2 separate regions of the Homo sapiens genome follow, and region 2 is linked to region 1. Evidence: promoter capture Hi-C in human tissues and cell types (Jung and others, 2019). All regions are on one chromosome and are shown on one strand. Each heading gives the region's core, a stretch centred on a gene start or on the middle of the fragment in contact. The rest is flanking DNA. Distances are from core to core; before and after follow the strand shown.

Region 1 (3,536 bases), core at 409-2,908:
ATCTTGTTTGAACTTTTTTTAAATTATACTTTAAGTTTTAGGGTACATGTGCACAACGTGCAGGTTTGTTACATATGTATTCATGTGCCATGTGGGTGTGCTGCACCCATTAACTCATCATTTAACATTAGGTATATCTCCTAATGCTATCCCTCCCCCCTCCCCCCACCCCACAACATTGCGGCACTATTCACAATAGCAAAGACTTGGAACCAACCCAAATGTCCAACAATGATAGACTGGATTAAGAAAATGTGGCACATATACACCATGGAATACTATGCAGCCATAAAAAATGATGAGTTCATGTCCTTTTTAGGGACATGGATGAAGCTGGAAACCATCATTCTCAGCAAACTATCGCAAGGACACAAAACCAAACACGGCATGTTCTCACTCTTAGGTGGGAATTGAACAATGAGAACACATGGACACAGGAAGGGGAACATCACACACCGGGATCTTGTTTGAAATTTACAGATAGAGAAGCGAAGGCCTTGGAGATACAACGTTCTTCGGAAAGTGGTCAGAGCCTCCTAACATTGCTTCGGGGCTGCGCCCCTCCCCGCTCCCTCCTGTTTTGGCTTCTTGCCAGCCTGGATGTTCCTGGTCCCTGCAATGCTTGCACTTTCCTGAGTCAATACTGTGGAATCTGTTGACCCTTCTTCTTGGAAACTGTTTTCTTCCATTTTTTTTTTTAAGAAAACTGTAAAGTTAATGCATACTCTTGGGAAAAAAGAATTCTAACAGAATTAAAGATTATAATTGAAACATACTTTATACACAGTTTTATATACCATTTTTTCTTAATACTATGAACAAGTTTTCTGTGTCCTTAGAATGGTTGTAAATACCATAGTGGTTACAAGGGGCGTAGCCACATTCTAAGAGTGCATCGCCATTGACTTAATGCTCCACTGTATCCTCTAATTAGGCCACAGCCTTGGCTGACCCATGCTCCTGCCTAAACGTGACCAGTCTGCACCTCAGAAGGCCAGGCTCTCCCCTTGGCTGCCACCTACAGCCAATCTAACCAGCTGTGCACCCGAGTCTCTGTTTTTTTTTTTTTTTTTTTTTTTTTTTTTAATGTTTTCCCCATTACTTCAAGGTTTGGATAAAATAATGTACTATGGTTTGCAGCCTGGCTTCCCAAATAATGAGGCTGGAAGTCACAATCTGAAACTGAGTGAATTAACCCCCTGTTCAGGGAATTGAGTAATAAGGAAAAAAGACCTTGAAAGAGCTAGGAAGATTCATTTCCTCTTCTCCCTTTTTCTGATGAACAAACTGTTTCAGGAAAGAGATCTTGCTTACCTCTGCAGTCTCTCTGAGATGTCCCTCATGGCCACATGAGTGCACCCAGCAAAGGACCCAACTTGGGAAGCTGTGGCCAGGATGGTATATGTCACTTTGCATTGCTTCTCATCCTTCCCTCCGTAGCTGTTTTCCTCACCTTCTTGCCATGAGTTTGCACGTCCTTAAACAAAATAGGAGCCTTTTTAGTCATTGCCTCAGACCAGGCTTTTTAGGGAACCTGAGCTCAGGCAGAGACCTAGATGCAGAGGGAGGTAGAATGTTCCAGGAAGGAGATGCAGAATGTACAAAAGCTTTGTGGGGTGAGGGAGCATGATAGGGTAAAAGCAAAGGAAGGTTGAAATGAAAAAAAAAAAAAAGTAAATGGCAAATGTGAAATGTGATGGAGAAAGGAAGAGGAGGGGCATGTGATGTAAACTAGCTGGGGACAAAACCACAGAAGGTGGTATAGACCCCGGAAGCAGTCTGGTCTTGATTCTAAGAGTAACAGCAATCTACTGTAGGGCTTTAGGGAGGATGGCAGTGGGATGGAGATGGGGTAGCATATTAGTCCATTTTCACACTGCTGTAAAGAACTGCCTGAGACTGGGTCATTTATACAGAAAAGAGATTTAGGTGACTCACAGTTCCGCATGGCTGGTGAGGCCTCAGGAAACTTACAATCATGTCAGAAGGGGAAGGAGGGATGTCTTACGTGGTGGCAGGCGAGAGAGAGCCTATGAAGGAGGAACAGTCAAACACTTATAAACCATCAGATCTCATGAGAACTCACTCACTGTCATGAGAACAGCATGGGGGAAACTGTTTACATGATCCAGTCACCTCCTTCCCTTGAGATTTGGGGATTACAGGTCCCTTCCTCAACACATGGGGGTTACAATTCGAGATGGGATTTGGGTGGGGACACAGAGCCAAACCATGGGGGTTACAATTCGAGATGGGATTTGGGTAGTGACACTGGATTTGAATTTTGAAAGGGACACTCTGGTTATGCAGGGCAGAATAGATCGTCTGAAGGAGGTTTGCAGTGTGGATATTGCTTGATCAGTTAGCAAGTGATGGCATATTACTGGAGAAAGATGACATTAGCTTGGACTACTGTGGGAATAATGGAAATGGAGAAAAATGAGAGATATTTGGGAAGTAAAATGGATAAGATCGATAAAGGTTGGATATGTAACCTGGGGCAGTGGAGGAGTCTTAGATAATTCCTAGGTCTCTATATTGAGCTATTTATTGGATGCTGGTGGCATTCACAGAGGTCAAACATTTGTGGCTGAGGTCAAACATTTGTGATGTACCCGGTATAACTGCTCCCTGAAGTTCCCTGAAGCTGAGAGAGTGAACAGATGGTAAGGAGAGGCAAGCTGGCCTTGCCTTCCTGGATTTTATGTTTTCAAATGACTGAGAGTACTGTATGGATTGGACATGTGACTAAAAGAATTCCCTGCCCTTCCCCACCTTGCAACCCCCTTCCCCAGATCTGAAGTTGAATTATACACTAATGAGCACATGTCTGGCCCAAATTAGGTCTAGAATGCATGTGTCTAATGTGGGCCTTCTAATATTCAGTCTTCCCTGTATATTAGTGAGCTATTTCATTTTTCAAATAATTGGAGTCATGTTGTAGTTCTTCCAGGGAAATTCCAATCACCAGGGCTAGTGTCTCTGCCCTTGATCACACTGATTTATAGAAGTCATCTTCTTCATTTGTAAAGTATTTGTTGTGTTTATTATGAGTGAGACACTAAGTAGGGCACAATATGAATATGACATGGGTCTTGCTCACTAATTTTCAGCAAGATAAGAGATTATATTGTCCTTCATCACATTGATTTATGGAAGAGTCCATATGCAGGACTCAATCTCCTATCCTTTCTGCATTGCTGTCTTTGAGAGCTTGCAGTCATAGAACAGATTTTGAAAAATGAGTGGCAGTCAATTTTGACTGCCTCAGAAAATAATACCCATAGTGTGGCTAAGAGGGTAGAGCATGGTTGGGTGCAAAAATTTGAATATGCCTAACCACTTTCCTGTAACTTGTATATTCCATATTTCTGAACTGGGTTATTATACCAACTTGTAAGATGACATTTCTGAGAACAAGTTGAGTATAAGTCACTGATTATGTTTAAAACTGAAGTGTTATCTACTCTATAGTTATAAATTTTCTCAGACTCCTGCAAATTGTTTACTAATAGCTTGCTTTTCCATGTGATTCA
Region 2 (3,456 bases), core at 105-2,604, 54 kb after region 1:
AAAGGCCCAGAACTAGGTAGTGGTATAGTTGCATTAGACTCAGTTTCCAGTACCCAAGTTGAGGACAGCTGAAAATTGCCCTGCACACTGCACCGTAAGATGTGCTCTGGCAAAGGGGAGGAGTGTAGTTGATCTCATATTGGCAAGACCTCAGCTGTGATTCATTTTAATTATTCACTAATATATGTGTTCTGAAATACACTGCTATGATCTGAATGTTGTGCCCCTGTACTCCCATTCATATGTTGAAATCTAATTACAAATGTGATGATATTAAGAGATGGAGCCTTTGGGAAGTAATTAGATTATGAAGCTGGAACCCACATGAATGGGATTAGTTTCCTTGTAAAGGAGGCCTCAGAAAGCTGCCCTGTCCTCTCCAGACACTGAATTTACCTTGATCTTGGACTTCCCACCCTTTAGAGCTGTGAGAAATATATTTCTATTATTTATAAGCCACTCAGTTGATAGTAGTTCATCATAGCAGCCTAAGCAGACTGAGACACACACAGAATTGGAAAAAGAGAAGTGTGTAATGAAAGTTGTTGAGATTCTGTCCTGACTGATGCTCCTAAATCCTTTCTATACTATTTGGCCCAATTATCTTTGTAGATATATTTCCCCCCAGGAAAGAATCAATAGATACTCTGCTCTGTTTCAATTTCTTCCCGTATTACTTATATGTTTTCTTTCTATCTATAAAAAAATAAGATTGGGTTTTCTGAAATATATTTTTTATTCCTGTGAGAATCAGTTTTTCTACACCACAGACACAAATCAGAACTAATTCACAGCAGATGTGAGCATTCATAAGGAGAAGTATGTTTTATATTTCCTGCATGAAAGTATAGTGAAGGTTCAGGACATGCGTGAAGGCCCATTGTGTTGAAGTAAGGGTGTTTCTTCTATGTTCCTCCCCACTTTTCAGGTGAGGAACTAAAGTTCAAATCAATCAGAAAGATAACTGAGCAGATGTGTATCTGGTCAGGGATCTGGGTCCTGATCTCTGTGTTGCCAAAGTATATACTCTTTCCTACATCTTCTTTACATTAATACATCCTGATTTGTTGTAATAACTAGACAGAAGTAGAAATAACAGCACAACGTATATGCAACTGGTGGCAGCAACAATCTATCAGAATGGTCAATAATGATCATATCAGCTTTGGTACAGAGTTGCACCTGTGTACACCTTGGGTTGGAGCCTCAGGGTCAGGAAGGCAACAAAAATGGATCTAGACAGGAGCCATGACAGTCTCTGCAGTAACCAGTCTCAGCTGAGTGTTCACCAGTACACGTGTGAGGAAGGATGGAAAGTTAATCCTGCTGCACAGTTTTTTATATTGGGTTCTTTTCTATGCATTTGCTTACTTAATTGAATATCTATTAAACAAATTGTAACCTTTCTGCAGTTCCATCAATCTTGGTTCTTCTAAATAATCATGTTCCTGGCTTTATAAATACTCAAGCCATAAGAATTTGCTACTAAAAGGGTAGCCTGAAAAGGGGAAGGCAACCAAAATAGGTGTTACTCACCTAGCGCACTGAATGCTTGATAAAGCGCAAAGTTGCAGAAGCAACTATTGTACTAAGGATTTCATTTGTACTTCCTTCTATATTATTTTAAAAAGAATTAGAGACTGTTTTGTTTATCTTGTTAGTCAAAATTACATAAACCTTTAAATTTGCAGTTTGTAAATGCTATGACAAATTCAAATATAAATCTTAGTCTAGTAATAATTCTTTAATGTATTTTTCATAATTCTATTACAAAAAAGAGATAGGTAAAAATAACAAATACTATAATTATGTTGAATTATTACAAAGACTGTTATGTCCTAATACTGCTTATTCTCTTCATATCCAAATTATGTAATAAAATGATTGCGTTCTGTGTTATGAAACTGTGAACTCTTTGAGAACTGTAAACTTAACAAGTTTCCTCAAATAACTTTGACTCTTTCAGACAGGCCCTCCAAGAGCATCTGTTGAATTAATGTTGTAGCAAATGGGAAGGTAAAATGTGCTTGCGTGTGTTAATGACATGTTATTATTGTCTTCCCTGCAGAGAAATTGTAATGAGCAGTTGCACCTATTGGCTGGTGGTTGCTGGAATGCATGCTGCCTGCCCCAAGTCTGGCTGTCTTCTATTTTCATATCTGGACCTCTTTCTGTTTCCTATTGTCTGAGTCTGACCTCTGGTTTTAAAATCAATCCCTGACCACTAGCTCAATATTTCAGATCAAAATAGCTCTGCCAATTGTTCTCTAATCTTATACTTTAGCTCTAAGTCCTTCCTTCCTTCCTTCCTTCCTTCCTTCCTTCCTTCCTTCCTTCCTTCCTTCCTTCCTTCTTTCCTTCCTTCCTTCCATCCATCCATCCATCCATCAGTACATATTAGTTAAGAGGTTACTGGGTGATACTTTGGCTAGATGTTAGAGAAGCAAGACAAATAAAACTTTTCTCATGGAGTTTACAATCGAGTGGGCAAGATCAGATCAGACATTGACTGTGGAACAGTAAGGATAAAGAGTGTTAAAAATGTGGACCTGCAGGATGTTGTGGGAGTGCAACACAGTAGGAGCTTGCCTTACCTGACGTTTCAGGACAGCAATCTCTGGAGAAATGATATTCCAGAAACCTGATGTATGTGTTGGATACAGCCAAAGTAAAGATAAGGGCTAGTGTGTTTTAGCCAGAGTAATGCATGGACAGGCACTGATATTGCCTGGGTATGTTTGACGAACAGAAAATAGACCAGCATGACTGAAGGGCAGAGACCTAGGGGGCTCAGGGATAGGGGGAGTTACTGCTTGTAGAAACGGTTTAGGGCTTGGCAATAAGAAATCTTTGAATAATTTTAAGGTGAGAAGAGGCATGGTCAGTGAGGCAGATGCTGTCTCTTTGTCCAGCTCTAAGCTCACATGCAGCTGAGATGGACTATTTCCAGACTCACTGGCCACTTCCAATTTCAAGCACCCTCATCCCTCAGCCTTCCTACCTGAGAGTTTTCTTTTGGTGCCAGCACATCTTGCTCAGCTGTCACGCGAGCTATAGCAAGTATTAGGCATTTGAAGTCATGACCATCGGTTTTCAGCAAAAAATGAGTTAGCAGAATTTTTCTTCCTTCAGTGGGAAAATTCTGAGAAATTTTGACATGGTCCTTCAGAATGCCCTAGGGGGATTAAGCCTCTGTTGTGATCAGAGTCACCTGTTTATTAGCTTCTCCATTTCTCTGGCCTACTTCCTCTACTGTTTCACTTGTGCTTCTTGGATAATATCCTAAATAAACTACCTGCACGGAAGTCCTTATCTCAGGATTTTCTATTTAAGGAACTCAAACTAAGAGGGATAATACCAGAAGTTATATTAAAAAGCAGATTCTAAGAATGGGGTTCCAATTGGAGGACTCACTGGTCATATAGCAACAAAAACTATTGCTAGTGATGGCGAGTG

The links. The method cuts DNA at HindIII sites, captures the fragments that hold promoters and counts their contacts. A contact is called where the count stands out against the background at its distance.
Region 2: a fragment that was not itself captured here is called in contact with the fragment with the promoter of GTSCR1 in region 1 in 1 of the 25 tissues and cell types used here (stomach).

What each region holds. Positions count from the first base shown.
Region 1 is chr18:70,649,296-70,652,831 of GRCh38, forward strand. It overlaps GTSCR1 (Gilles de la Tourette syndrome chromosome region, candidate 1), which reads right to left and starts at 1,659. Exons shown (of 3, transcript NR_160904.1): 1 at 1,315-1,659. The HindIII fragment of the contact is 9,016 bases long and covers 1-3,536 here.
Region 2 is chr18:70,703,801-70,707,256 of GRCh38, forward strand. No RefSeq gene overlaps it. Among named protein-coding and RNA genes, the nearest start is that of GTSCR1, 55 kb to the left of the region's middle. The HindIII fragment of the contact is 7,576 bases long and covers 1-3,456 here.